Linked DNA regions of Homo sapiens: region 2 is linked to region 1. Evidence: promoter capture Hi-C in 16 types of primary human blood cells and fetal thymus (Javierre and others, 2016). All regions are on one chromosome and are shown on one strand. Each heading gives the region's core, a stretch centred on a gene start or on the middle of the fragment in contact. The rest is flanking DNA. Distances are from core to core; before and after follow the strand shown. Region 1 holds the start of LINC02086 (long intergenic non-protein coding RNA 2086). Region 2 overlaps SKAP1 (src kinase associated phosphoprotein 1).

Region 1 (7,329 bases), core at 2,868-5,367:
AGAGGCCTCACAGAGGCGGGGGCAGAAGGCGGCGACCCAGAGCCGCCACATCCCCCGCCTTGGGCGCCGTCACAGTCCCCAGACGCCCTGGACTCCTGCAGTCTACGAAGACGCGCGGGGGACGGCGTGGTTCCGAGAGGTAGGTGAGGAGGCGGGCGCAGCCCTTCCTCTCGCAGCTGGGGACTGCGGCGTGAAAGGCCCCTCTCCAAGCTGGGCAGCCCCGTGGCCCGAGCTTTCAGGACCAACCGCCCGTGGCAGGCGTGGGCTTCCCGGGGCCACCGGCTTAACCTTGATCTCCAGACCGAGGCAGCTTCCCGGGTAGGGCCTCGGGGCGCACCCGAAAACGCCTTGGCCTCCCTGTCCGCTGGCACCCGACCCTACCTCTCCAACAGGTGTGTGTGTGGGGAAAGGGGGTCGCCTCCCCTCGTTCTACCGGAAACCCTGGCTCCCCAGAGCCGAGTGCTCAGTGCCCCGCCCAGCCTGAGGCCCTGCGTCCTGGGCCTCCTGCTCACAACCCCGGATTCCAGGCGGATGCCGTGAGAGAGGCAAGGGCCAGACGCCCTGAGCAGCCTTGGGGGTGAGGAATCGCTTGGGATGGAAGAAGGGCCACTTTTCCTAACGGAAATTAGGAATTGGCCTGGAACTCTTGGTCTAGACAGAAGCCCCCAGCTCCCCAAGGTGCAGAATCAGCTCTCCCGCGCGCTGTCTCTCTAGCTGCCTCCTGGCGTGGAGGGGGCAGAATACTTGGGGGAGTCTCTTGCTTTGGCTTTTGGGGGCCTCATAGGTTTTCTTCCCCTCTGGACTGTGAGCAGCCTCCTGCCTGAGAGAGCGTGTATCTGAATCTAAGGAATGCCAGGAGACGCCATCTTATTTGAAACCCACACTCACAAAAACGGGGCATGTGCATTTTTGTGGAGGGACCTGTTGTTTATGGGAGTGGGCAGAGGGCATCCAAAGGATTTCAAACTGTATGGACTGACTCATGGGTCAATACAAAAATTATTCGCCTTTGAAAAGGCATGTAAAGAAAAGCAAGCATAAAGGGGTGTGCATCGTGCATCGTGGGTATTGTGGAGTCTGAGAGGAATTAGTAACTCGCCGGAGTCGGCTAGGAATCTTATATGACAGCAACTGTGCCTCTCGGAGTAGTCAAGCACCGTTTAAAGATTGAGGATTTATACAGACATGCGAAAGAGATGTGAAATTATGTGCTCCCAACTGTGCTCAATAATAAAGGCAGTAGAAGGGAAATTCATATTTTCATCTATATGCCTCCCCCCTCGCAAAGTAGAACATTGCATGGTATATTTCACATAGTCCACATACCAGAGGCGGAATGTGCAACTGACTGCCCAGGACTGTGCTTTCCAGTACAAATGGAAGCACAAAGATGCCTAATGGAGAAGAGTTAAGTGAAAGTTCTCTTTTCTCAGTGCACTTCCCTAACCCTTTGAGGAAGCAAGTCTGGGGGGCCTTTCCTGATAGGATCTTCCCTCCAAATCCCTTTTGGAGCTGGAGCTCCTCTCTTTCCCTAAAGTCTGGCGCACTTGGCTCCAAGTCCCCATTTCTCCAGTCCAGAAGGGATGAAGCCTCCTCCACCCCAAACATATAGCCTTTGGCTCGCTGGGAGGAGAATTGCTCACCTTCTGCGGTGGTTTAGAACACCACCCTACACAGGGATACACATACACAGTGCCCCAGAGGAAATGCAAAGAAAGGTTTTGCTAGTCCAAGCAAGGTGTTGTGGGAGACCTCAGAGACCCTTAGAAAGAGCCTCACTCCCCACACTGCAACTTGAAAGACCCAGGACATCCCTCCCACCCCCAGGACAGACAGGGTTCTCACCAGCTGGGAACGCACAGAGCCCGTGACAACAGGAGGATCTGTTGGGCTGGGAACTTCACATCCCACCCACCCTGCCTCCAACTTCTTTTTTTTTCTGGCCAGATTAAAAGTCAAGCTTAAAGTGCTGTTGGGTTAGAGAGTTTCATTGTTTTAGTCTATTGGTTTCTCTCCCTCATTTTCTTCTCCCTCATCTCCCTTTTACTCCCAGGTTTTGCCCATTTTTTTTCTCTCTCTCCACACAGAAAATCTGTGAATTTTCTGGGCTTGAACGGAAGGAATGAGGAGGGAAAGGAGGGAATATTTGACCTATCCAGGCAGCACTCAGAGCTGTAATTGACACCAAGTCATCCTAGTAGACCTTGTCCTCACAGGCTTAGAGGATATTTGATTCCAGAATCCCCCACCAGCACCCCAAGATCCAGTGGTACCTCCTTCCTCCTTGGGGCTTCTATAGTTTTCAAAAATGGGAGAAATCAAAAATGCCATCATTATTCCAGTGACCGGGTGTGGAGGGAGTCTGCAGTTTGGCCAGAGGCCTGGTCTCAGAGAAAGGAGTCCTGAGGGCTGGGGGGTTGGGGCAAGGCCTAGGGCCAACTTGGTTCTGACCTTGCCTGCCAGTAGAGAATCTTGGGCTCTTCACCAAGTAAAGGCAAGATCAAGGGACTGGAGGTCTGAGTCCCTCTCTTGCCTAACTGCCCCAAGGGCCCCAGAAACTACTCTGGGCCAAAAATCAGTAATAGTTGAAAGAAAGAAACAAATACTGAAAACACCCAGATTTATAATCTGCTTAGACACCCAAACTCATCCTTAAAGCAGTAAATAAAATTTATCTCCTTGACTGCCTTGCAACTTTCTACTCAGTTTGGCAATGTGTAGATGGGGTCAGCTTGAGTTTCAGAGCTTGGGGGTCCAGCACTAAATGTCTAGAGAGCTAGATCTGGGGCCTCTCACCCCCTTTCCTCATATACCTCCTCTTGCTTCCTTCCCCTCCCAGGGCTTCTCAGAAAGTGACAGCTGACTTCCTTTTAGAACTGTGAAATCCCACAATTTCAGAGGATTTCAAATTCCTTGAACTTCAGGTTGAGAGCTATTTGGATTAATCAGAGAAGTTTGTGTCTGGAAAATGATGCCAGATTTAGCCAGAAAACTGAAAGACCAAATGCTTTACTTTTTTTTTCCTTTGTCTGATCTCAGTGCTTATCAGGTCAACCTTCACCTTTAAAAACACCCTGGTGGCAGTATTTCTTTGCCATCACTGTCTGTAAAGCAAAGGGCAAGCATCTCAGGGCTTTTAGTTGGGCCGGGAATTCAAATGTCTCCTTTCTCAAGAAGATGCCAAAGTGGCCACCCTCAGCCCACTTTCCGTCCTTACCTCCTCTGCCCTTTCCCCAGCTGTAGTTATAGGAATAATGGCCTTTAACTTGCAGAGATCATTAAGGCCAAAGCCCTCACTCCTTCCCATCTCTCCTCTTGGGGCCGTCTGAGTCGCTTCCTCCACGACCCTCCTCTTTTGAAGCACTCCCTAGTACTGTTAAAGGCCGAATTTGGGCTGGAGCGAAGATGGGGGCTCAGTCCAAAATAACCTAGATATTAAGTAATAGTAATGATTTTTTTAAAAGGTAACTATGAACTCTCAAGCCTCGACCACCCAGTAAAGTTCCTCCTTAAATTGTTGCCGGCCCTGGGTGCAGACACGCAAGGACTGGCCAGAACGCGAGAAACTTCTTCAAGGAGAGAGAAGTCAGGGCCCAAATTCCTCATGCTTTAAAGCAGTATAAGAGGAGAGAGTCCAAATTTTTACTCGTTAAACCTCCTCTTACCTCTTCCTCAGGTCTGTTCACTCCTTGGTCCAGGGACCGGAGCTCCTGGGCTTCGAGGTGAACCAGAGGGAACGTGGCTCCCCGCAGCAACCTTTTTGCTTCAGGGCTCCTCCTGGGGGCTGAGTGGTCCCCTTTGCTTTGCTATTCCCGCTGCGGCTCCTGGGGGGACAGCTCCGTGGGACCAGGTCTCTCAGGGGGTGGAGGGTCGCCGAAGTCGTGACCAGGAGTTGGAGACCGCTGCGTCCCTCCGCTGCGGACCTGCCTGGGACTGCGTGGAATGGACCAAGTCCTCCGTCTAGGATTCCCTAGTGCTCGACGGCGCGCACTCCGCAGTGCTCCGCTGGAGATCTGCACCTGTGTCCCGGGGCTGGGCGCAGAGTGAAGATCTCCGTGCACGCTGCTGACCGGCTCGGCGACTGCCTCCCTGCTGTGAGCAGGAGAACAGGAAGTCTGCCCGACAGGGAGGTGGCCGGGCGGGAGCGGCAGAGTCGGCGTTGAGAGGAGGGTCAGCTGCACCTCGGGATTCCGCGCGCCTTCAACTCCCTCTTGCGGACAGCCCAGCCGCGGGTTGGCGCCGCAGTGATGGAACCTGGGGAGGGCCTAGCTTAGAGTCCCAGCAGTCCAGAGGAGGGGACCAGAGCAGAGGATTAGGAACGGGGCTTTCATATCCAGCCTAGGCGCCCAGAAGCGGCACTTAAGGGGCGAAGGGAGGCCGCAATTACAAAGGTGCGCCCTCCGACGCCTCAACGTCAAGGGCCTGTAGATTCACAACCTCCTCTGTCGGGGATGGGGGAAGATGAGGTGGGATAGGGAGGCTATGTCCAGCCACCAGCGCAGGGAGTGGCTCTAAACGCTGACCCAACGCCTCGCCCCAAGCGGGATCTTGGCGCGCAGATAGACCGAGCCCGTGGTGGGGCGCCATGCCGGGCTCCCTCGCCCTTACCGAGTGAGCATCTTCTTCCCAATTTGCTGCTCAGAGAGGGAGTGGGTCCTAGTCTCTGGATCTCAGCGCTCACGACTACCTCGCTGCTCCTAACGAACGGTTCATCTGCTCTCTCCTGGCCGCCTGCGCCAGCGCCGCTCACCCACTTTTCCAGCCCTGGATCTCCTCTCCCCGGATGCGTCCTTCCTTCCCACAATTAACAAATGATCTAGCGAAACCCCGCCAGGTCCCCGGCAGAGAAGCACCTCCATCCGCCCTAACCAACCAATTAATCAGATCATTAAGGAGCCTGAGGAGTTGTAATTGGGTGGTTTGGGACGAGGGGGCGCTGAGGAGGTCATTAACCTCCCCGTAAAGATGGGGAACGGAGACGCGCCTGGCCGCCTCTGCCGCCCCTGCCGCCCCTGCCGCCCCTGTGGGCTCTTCTTAGCACGCGGGTTTTGGCCACTCCACCTGCCTGCTGCGCTCCAGTTCCCGCCTCCAGTCCAGCTATTTCACTTCTCTCTTTGTCATTCTCCGTCTTTTCTCTGGCAACCGTCCAGGGCCCCTTTCTTTGTGCCTACTTCTGTCTACCTGTCCAGCTGCCTCTTGCACCCTTTCTGTGGCCCAGCGGCCAAGAAAACTCAAAGGTCATGGCTGTTGGCCCCCGCTGATGATCTCTGGGCTCCCGGGTCTCAGACAATTCCTCAGGGCTGGCTAGAAATGGTGGGAGCTGGAGATTTGGACACTATACCCATTCCCCAAGAGAAGGGCATTTGCAAAGGGGAAGTGTTTCCTGAAACGTTCAATTCTCTTTCGGTATGAGATAGCTTTGGACAAGGTGACAAATGGCGGAAGGTCCAGGCCCCAGTGGATAAAAGCTCCATATTAATTTAATTAGAGACACAGAGACCTTGCATACTCCTTGTCTGCACAGGCAAATATGGAGGAGGTAGTGATTGGGTGTTGTGGCCTGACTGGTCTCAGTCTAAGAGTCCCCAGCACCTGTGACCTGGTTCCTGGTGTTCCAAGAAGTCCAGGTGACAGTATCTGTTCAACCTTGTGGAACAATAAATTGTTTGTCCTTTTAATTTGTCTTGTCAGATCCCCAAGTATATTACAATGCCTCCCTCTGCATTACATTTTTGGTTGGTTGTGTAAGAATGGTGGATGAGAGGTTCTTAACATTTTGGGGCCACTCCCTGATATGATAATTTAAATTTTGATGAACAATATTGATTCCCCTCTACCCAGAAAAAAAATGTGCGTATGTAGTACTCACCAAATCCCACAATTTCAGAGAGTTTCAGACTCCTCAGACACCAAGTTAACAACTACAATTTGGATAGATCAAAGGAGCTGGTGTCTGGGAAATGCCGAGGCCAAATATAGTCAGTTTACGTAGGTCTTCACCCTTTCTCTTGGCTGACATCTCCATTTTGCCAGGCCAGCCTTCACCTGTAAAAACACTCCGGTGGCAGTGTCCTCTCCCCACCATTACCTGTAGGGTCTGGGCTCCCAGTGGGAGTCAGTCTTTCCTTCCCAGCAGCTGGGAGCCTGAGAACGTGGGAAGAGCTTTGCTGGGGAAAGCTGATCTTAGACTGGCCAGCAGTTGGACCAGCAATGGAAGGAAATCAGGCTTAAGCAGCTTCCCAGGGACTAAAAACCATACCAGAACTCCTGGAAGGGAAGACTATCTGGAAACAGCCTCCTAACTAAAGCTGCCTATAAGTCAAGCAAATGGGGACTGGGCAATAGAATGTTCCTTTGTGTCCCTTATTGACTCACTTATTCCATTTCCTCAGGGACCCAGCTCTACTTGGGGCTGATTTAGCCAAGGTTAGAGGCTGGGGAATACCAAATGCTGAACTTAAAGGGGAAGGATTTGCTCCCTAATATTTTAGTAATCTTGTTTGTAAGAGATAAACAGCATGTGACCCCTGACTATCCTGGGGGACCTCCTAATTACGCCCAGCCTCTTGTGTTGTGGCCTGTTTAGACACAGAGTGTAAAGAAGGACTTAGCTCTTCTTTCCCGGCCTATTAAGTTTCCTGGCCATCTCCCCACATGTGTGAATTGACCAAGCTAGATCTCCCAGGAGAAAAATCAGGCTTCTTTGGGGTCTGGGAAGTAAAAAGAAACTTCCTTTTTCAAGGACTATGTTAAGACAAATTAGGAGAACTGGAAATTATCTGGCTAATTGTACCCTCCCCCTCCATACATACTTACACTCCAAACCCAAGCCCTCCTGGCTGCTCCTCAATTGTCTATACATTTCAAACAAATGTGACTTGGCACAGGAAAGACTCCAACTCATTTCTAGTTGCCCCTCTCTGTGCTGCACAACCACCACCCACCTGCCCAGCAGTTCGAGGCTGTGACAAGAAGCCAATGGTTGGCTAATAGTATTCAGACCCCTGCCTGAAAATACAAAGAAAAAAATAAACAATTCTCTTCTTGGGACAGCTTAAACTGGATAATCTTGGCTGTGAAAACCTGACCTAAATGCTTTTAATCAGAGCAGAAGAAATATATGCTCATTTGCTCCCTACTTTACTAATTAAAGAAAGCTAATTGGTGTTCTCAGAAACTTCCAACTGAGGGTCAGGAGCCTCTAGCCATCTCTTTGCCTGCCCCACCCCTCCCTGCACTGGGCCATCTGCACCATGGAGTTGGCCTTTTTCTGATAGACAATTAGAAGGGGGTGCTCCCGACCTTCTGGCTCCGCCCCTGCACTAGGAC
Region 2 (7,329 bases), core at 1,828-4,327, 280 kb after region 1:
CTTATGTCTGATAATGTTCCCCAAATTAAACTGTGAATTATGGCAACATACTTATTCTCCACTGACCTCTTCTGTCTTTATTTTCTGAAAATTTGTCACACACTAAAGAAATAACCAATATACTCACTGGGCTGATACTCTTCCCTGAAGAAGCTAAGCCTAATTTTAGTAATGTATGTACTAGAAGACACACCATTATCACCTATCACCTTTTCTGCATCTTTTTGGGGGGTTTATGGACCCTTTAAACTGCAAGCTTGTCCAACCTGCCTTATTTTGTTGTTGTTTTTCTTTTGTTTTTGTTTTAGGCTTTTAGCAGGGTGAAGCCATGATTTTTAGTTTCTACCTCTAGTGATAAGTGGAAAAGAGGGATGAGGAAGGGGCTTTAGTGGCCCACCAGAAACAGAAACTAAGAACCCATGAATGTATTCTCTCCCTTGGGCACCCCTGCAAAAGAATTCTATAAAAAACTGTGGACTCCCTCCCTAGGTTAAAAAAAAAAAAAAAAAGCTCCGACGCACATCTACACTCCTGAGAGGTCAAAATGAGGATAGAAAAGCATCCCTTATATTTGGTGGTGTGAAGGTTATTATGTCTATAGCAAGAGTTAATATGCAATGGCTCTGAGCCTGACTGGAGGATGTTGAGTGAGTGGGCAGTGAGGGAATAAAATGAGCCAAGTGTAGACAGTGCTTTTGAAAATGTCACTGTGATGTGACGGGAAACAGGACAGCAGGTGGAGGGATGTGAAGGGGTGAGGGAGGATTTGCTTTATTTTTATATGAGCATAAATGCTGATGGAAAGGGCCAAACTGAGAGGAAGAGGTTGAATACAGACAAGAGAAAAATTGATAAAGAATAATGTAAAGTTCCTGTGAAGGCAGGAGGAAATGGGATCCAAAATACAGTAGCCTTTCTTGGGTAACCATCATATATAACATTGTTTTTGTGGGGAAAGAAATGCAATTTAGTTTCCAAATAAGTGACTTACAAATGATCCTTTCCACCACTGCTATTTTGTTAGTTTAAGACTTCAAGGGTTGCTGGATGCAGTGGCTCATCCCTGCAATCCCAACACTTTGGGATGCCAAAGTGGGAGGATTGCTTAAGCCCCAGCCTGGGCAACAAAGTGAGACCCCATCGCTACAAAACAAAAACAAAAACAAAAACAAAAAAACAGTAACTGTTTTTCAGTCTCTCATTGCAAGGTTGTTGAGAATTAGTAGTAATGTGTGTAAGCATCTAGGTGTGGTGGCGTGTGCCTGTGGCCCCAGCTACATGGGAGGCTGAGGTAGGAGGATCCCTTGAGCCCAGCAGGTCAAGGTTGCAGTGAGTGACGTTCATGCCATTGCATTCCAGCTTGGGTGATAGAGCAAGGCCTAGTCTCAGAAAAAAAAATAGATAAATAAAAGACTTCAAGGGTTGTCAGTTTTGCCAATTATTTCCCAAAATAATAGAGGAGATAGGATGGTACAATGAACTGCAAGAGCCCCATTCTTGGCTCAGACACTAAAATGTTAGACAACCTTAAGTCAATTGCACTAAAACGTTAGACAACCTTAAGTCAATTGTTCATGTTTCACTTGTTGTTGTTGTTGTTTGTTTTGTTTTGTTGAGATGGAGTCTCGCTCTGTCACCCAGGCTGGAGTGCAATGGCGCGATCTTAGCTCACTGCAACCTCCGCCTCCTGGGTTCAAGCGATTCTCCTGCCTCAGCCTCCTGAGTAGCTGGGATTACAGGCACACGCCACCATGCCCAGCTAATTTTTATATTTTTAGTAGAGACAGGGTTTCACCATGTTGGTCAGACTGGTCTCGAACTGCTGACCTCATGATCTGCCTGCTTTGGCCTCCCAAAGTGCTGGGATTACAGGCGTGAGCCACCACACCCGGCCCATGTTTCACTTGTAAAATTAAGAATTTAGGTTTAAAAGGCAAAGCCCAGGAGTTCGAGGCTGCAGTGAGCTATGATTGTGTCACTGTACTCCAGCCTGGGTAACAGAGAAAAAAAAAATTAGGCTTCAGAGGCATTTGAGATGTGTTGGTGTTGGTGGTGGGGTTTGACTGTTATAACAACTGGGAATGCCTCTGGTATTTGGTACCTAGGACCAGTGTAATACACAGTCCTGTAATACACAGGCCAGATTGTCACAACAAAGAACCATCCTGCTGAAAGCCCGTAGAGCTCTTGATGAGAAACCCCAGGCCACCGCTAGGTTCCCTTTTAGGACCTTTCCAGCTCTAAAGTCAAAATTACGTGAGGAATTTCAGTGAATTAAATGCATCTTTTAAGCCATTGAGACTCTTTCAAATCTCAGGGATAACCTTTTGTTTTTCTCAAAATTAGTAGTGACTTTGGCTGGTTATAGACTTTAGCAAGCTTTTTGGACCAGGTGCTATAGCTATGGTAGGCCAACCAAAATTGAGAAATACAAGTTTGACTTATTCCCTTTTTTTTTCCCCCTTGTATTTCAGGTACTATTGGGATTTTCAGCCCCAAGGTGAGTCCTCTTTGACCACGTATGGTTTTATGCTAAAAATGTGTAAATGGGATTGTTTATTCCTGTCTCTTCTCTACAAGCTTCTCCACAGAGTGGCATTAACCATTTCCAAGGAAAGTTAGTGGAGTGTTTAATTAACCTTCACCCTGCTGCGCTCCCCTGCCCTGCTTTTTAGCAACAAGAAGCTCTATGCTTCCTCCTTCTGAGTGGACTGTTGCTAGATTATTTTATAAAACCAAGGCTATAATATGCTTTAATTCCTTGAGCTTTGTTAGGTGCCAACAGGATCCAGTAGCATTCAAATAAAATGGTAGCCAAGTCCATAATAAAAACCTTGGGAGGGTTCCAACTCAGCTAATCCTTCATTTGCTCCAGAAATAAATTCCAGTATGTTACCTCCTCGATCACAGTGCCCTTCCACACAGCCTGCCTGTCTGGCAGCAGAGAAATGTCAGAAATGGAGCAGTGTTGAAATTCCCACTAGAACAGTGTTATCACATTTTAATATGAGCCTTGCTGCAGCCTCAGTGCTTCTAATTGCTTTCAAACCATTGTTTTCCTGCTTTTGCTTGATGAACCCAGCATCTGGCATGATTCTAAAAAGTACTACAGACAGCTGTGTGCAAAATTAAAAAAAGAAAAAGGCCAGGATTAAAACACATTTTTAAAAGGTTCAGAATTGAAATATTTTTTTCCGAATTCAAACAGTTTGAGGGGATATCTTTTAAAGTATTTGCCTTCCTTCTTTTTAGTACTCTGGTTGAGAATGTCAGAAACATCAACCTGAATATTATCTTAATTTATTATAAATGGAGGGGCTTTATTTTCTCAGATAATCACAGAGTTTTAGATCAAACTTACAAATAGCTTTATAAACTATTTTGCTCTATAACTTTCTTAACCAATTGTAAACTTTTTAAGTACTTTTTATTCTCTTAATGTTGTCACTGTATCCAACCTCAGTGAATAGTAATACCTTAAATAAATTAAAATTGTGAGTGATTATAAGTTTTATTAAAATTTTTATTTTTCTGGCTCATGCTTTTAGTGTATTTCAAGTTTTTATAAAGCTTTATTTTAAAGCCATCTTTAAGAAATAAAAACCATACATTTTCAAAGCTTCTTGACTCTCATAAGTTAAAGTTGGAGCACTTACACTATTTTACGTAATGTGATGTGCTGTTACTACATATCTCACTGTCCTAAAGCATTTATAGCTGAAAACATAGATTGAGCAGTGGATAATTTTATGTAATAATGTAGCAATTTGCTTCGCAAAATGTGAATTGCACTATTCAGGGGATGGCCCTATAGTTCAGGGTTTAACAGATGTTAACCAAAATCCACAGGGGGAAGCACATGATTGTGAACTGGCAGAAATGAATGGAACTGTGAGGGTAGAATTAATTACCTAAAGGAGAAATAAAGAGTTAGTGTCAGAGATGTGGTATAGGAATAGGTTGAGAAGAGAAAATAATTTTGGAGCTTAACACAAGAGACTATATGGGACTAAAAAAGACAAAAGGCACATCTTACCAGATTCTTGAAATGCTGGCATTGCAGTCATCTTTCAACATAAAGCAGCTTCTACCCATCCTTTCTCTCTTGGAGAGAGGACAGAGGTAGAGCAGCCAAGGAGACAAGTGAAAATAGTTTATTTAGAACAGAAAACTGTATTTGCTTCTTGACAATGATTAAATATATGTGGCAAAGTCTTAGTGCATTTGGAAGTAAATGTAAGGAAAGATGACATAGAAAAACTCATGCCCTAGCCCCCAGTCTCATGACTTCTCACAGATATTTTCAGGGGTAGGAGGAGTTAGTGAGAGGGTATCTTTTACCTTGCCCTTTTGATCAGACCTTAGCTGATTATGTGCTTCAGAAGCTGGTGGGATGGGTAGGAGGAGTAAGTGGTTTAGATAAGGTACAACAGGACAATTTAAGATTATGAAAAGATTAGAAATATGTAAGAAAGAGAACAACTAGCAGAAGAATCTTAAAAGCCCTGGAAAACTGGGTGGTGTTGGGATGGGAGTGAGAAAGAACAGAAATGCTGGCCCCAAACTTTCTGAGCATTTTTATCTGTGACAGGACCCTCTGTACAAGAAGATGATGGGATGAATTTTATTAACTCTGCATCTGCCTAAAAACACACTTGAGTTCTTCAAGATATTTGAACTAAACCAGGTCTGGTGCCTGGAAGGAAAATAGTCTTTAATTATAAAAGATCCATTATTTGTATATCCTTTTAGTAGCACACATTTTAAAAATAGCAGCCTTGGCCGGGTGCGGTGGCTCATGCCTATAATCCCAGTACTTTGGGAGGCTGAGGCAGGCAGGTGGATCACCTGAGGTCAGGAGTTCGAGACCAGCCTGACCAACATGGTGAAACCCTGTCTCTACTACATACAAAAAATTAGCTGGGAGTGGTGGTGCATGCCTGTAGTCCCAGCCACTTGGGAGGCTGAGGCAGGAGAGTCGCTTGAACCTGGGAGACGGAGGTTGCAGTGAGCCGAGATTGTGTCATTGCACTCAAGCCTGGGCAACACGAGCAAAACTCTGTCTCAAAAAGAAAAAAAAAAAAAAACCAAGGCAGCCTTATCAAGATATAATTCACATACCATAAAATTTACCCATTTAAAAGGTACAAGTTAGTGGTGTACAGTATAGTATAGTATAGTATAGTATAGTATAGTATAGTATAGTATAGTATAGTACAGTACAAGTTGTGCAACCATCACCACTATCTAATTTCAGAACGTTTCATCACCCCAATAAGAAACCCTGTATGGATTCTAGAGCCCATTATCTCCAGAGGTCGAGAGCCCATACTCTTCGTGACTGTTTTTCACTGTCTCATTGCAAGGTTGTTGAAGATTAGTAGTAATGTGTGTAAGCATCGAGCTTAGTACCTTGACATAGTGGGAAAAAAAAAGCCAGTAGTTTCTATTTATCATAATGGGACATTAATGGTAATTCTTTCTCTCACATTTCCACCTGCGTTTTTTTATTGGTCCACTGTCAACTTCCTGAATGATATTTATTTTAAAAAGGAAACAGGGAAAATAAAACATGATCCAAAGAATACATTACTTTAATGTAGAGGGGATATAAATGGAAGGGCACTTTTAATGAGCTTAAACATAATTGGAGAACATGAAAGAGGCTTTTTATTTTTACTTGACAATAAGACATAATATTGCTTTAATAATTCATGTCCTGCTTACTCAAAAAAAATTTCTACTTAATTTTTTACTTAAAGTTACAAAGAAAAGCCAGCGGAGTTTTTGCCATGGAATTTTTATAATTTCAGTAATCAATATCTAAAAGGTGATATCGATAAGGGAATATTAATTTTGCCCTTAGATTTGATGGCAATATCACTTAAAGTTATTGAGCAAACTGATTTCCTTCATTTTGCTTCAGTTTCCCCTTTTATAAAATGAGTTAGTGATAGTTTTAATAAAAAATTTGATTATAAGGTATAATGTTTATAATTCAAAATTTATTTGCTATAAAAAAATCTTCATGAATATTAGATTGAATTTCCCACCATAGACCCAGAATCTAAAACAAATGACATAATATTTAAATAAAAATCTAGGGAAGACCATGGGAATATTATATAGAATAATATCTTTTTTTTATCCAGTGGTCACTCACATTACATTTGTGGTAGTGGTAAACATGGGCCAGTGGAATCTCTTGCCAACTTAAAGATTCTTTGAGTATCTCTATGAGTGGTGTAAAAGGTTTCTGAGAAAATTATTCAGTATATTTCATTATGAAAAAATTCTACTTTGTGAAGCTTAAAAATCTCATTTTGAAATGGCAAGCCTATATTCACGTCAAAGTAAATCGATGCCTAATAATATAGCCTGGCAGGCCAGGCACAGTGGCTCATGCCTGTAGTCCCAGCACTTTGGGAGGCTGAGCAGGTAGATTGCTTGAGCCCAGGAGTTTGAGATCAATCTGGGCAACATGGTGAGACCCTGTGTCTACAAAAAAAACAAAATTAGCTGGGCATGGTGGCACAGGCCTGTAGTCCTAGCTGCTTGGGAGGCTGAGGTGGGAGGATCACTCAAGCCTGGCAGGTTGAGACTGCAGTGAGCCGAGATCGCGCCACTGCACTTCAGCATAGGAGACCGAGCGAGACCTTGTCCCAAACACACAAACAAAGAAATAAACAAATAAAAATATAGCCTGGCAAAAACAAATAGTGCTAAGTGAATAAGGAAATTATAAAGCCATGTTAACTGTAAATTAAGAGATTTAAGAGGTTTACCAACGAATGTATAAACTTTGTGCATTCTGAGTCAAGCAAACTATTAAAAAATGACATCTATGAGAGAATTAGAAATTTGAACACTGGTTATTTTATGTTATTAGGAAACTACTGGATTTTTTTAGGTGTAGCAGTGGTATTATGGTTAATTTTTTTAAAAACAGTTCTTTATTTCAGAGAGAGGTGTGCCATGATATTTAAATATATAATGTCTGACAAATAATATGGGAGAGGAGAAAGAAACAGGGTAAATATAGATGAGATGAGATCGGCCATAAGTTGACACTTGTTGAAGCTGAATGATGTATATATGGGAGTTTATTACACTGTTTTGTCTACTTTTATACATGTTTAAACTTCTCCATAATGTAAAGGTAAAAGAAAAAGGTTGAGATTGATTAAAAATGTAACATTTTTCTTTTATCTCTATCATGAGATCTAGTATATTAATGCATATATTGCTTTATGCATCTGGATATAAAGTACATAGAATAGTGAACTGATTTTTTAAATTGTTGTTCAAGTTAATGTTTTATGATAGAAA

What was found. Contacts are between HindIII fragments. The CHiCAGO score rates a contact against its expected background, and 5 or more counts as called.
Region 2: a fragment that was not itself captured here is called in contact with the fragment with the promoter of LINC02086 in region 1 in 3 of 17 cell types (endothelial precursors, M1 macrophages and M2 macrophages); the score reaches 5.8 in endothelial precursors.

Annotation. Positions count from the first base shown.
Region 1 is chr17:48,639,415-48,646,743 of GRCh38, reverse strand. LINC02086 (long intergenic non-protein coding RNA 2086) reads right to left here and starts at 4,117. Exons shown (of 8, transcript NR_189645.1): 1 at 382-4,117. LINC03057 (long intergenic non-protein coding RNA 3057) reads left to right here. Exons shown (of 2, transcript NR_186590.1): 1 at 1-139. RefSeq lists enhancers at 199-248, 1-355, 3,523-4,519, 4,520-5,518. The HindIII fragment of the contact is 12,737 bases long and covers 1,963-7,329 here.
Region 2 is chr17:48,358,960-48,366,288 of GRCh38, reverse strand. SKAP1 (src kinase associated phosphoprotein 1) reads left to right here. Exons shown (of 13, transcript NM_003726.4): 3 at 2,475-2,500. Among named protein-coding and RNA genes, the nearest start is that of SKAP1, 68 kb to the left of the region's middle. The HindIII fragment of the contact is 990 bases long and covers 2,583-3,572 here.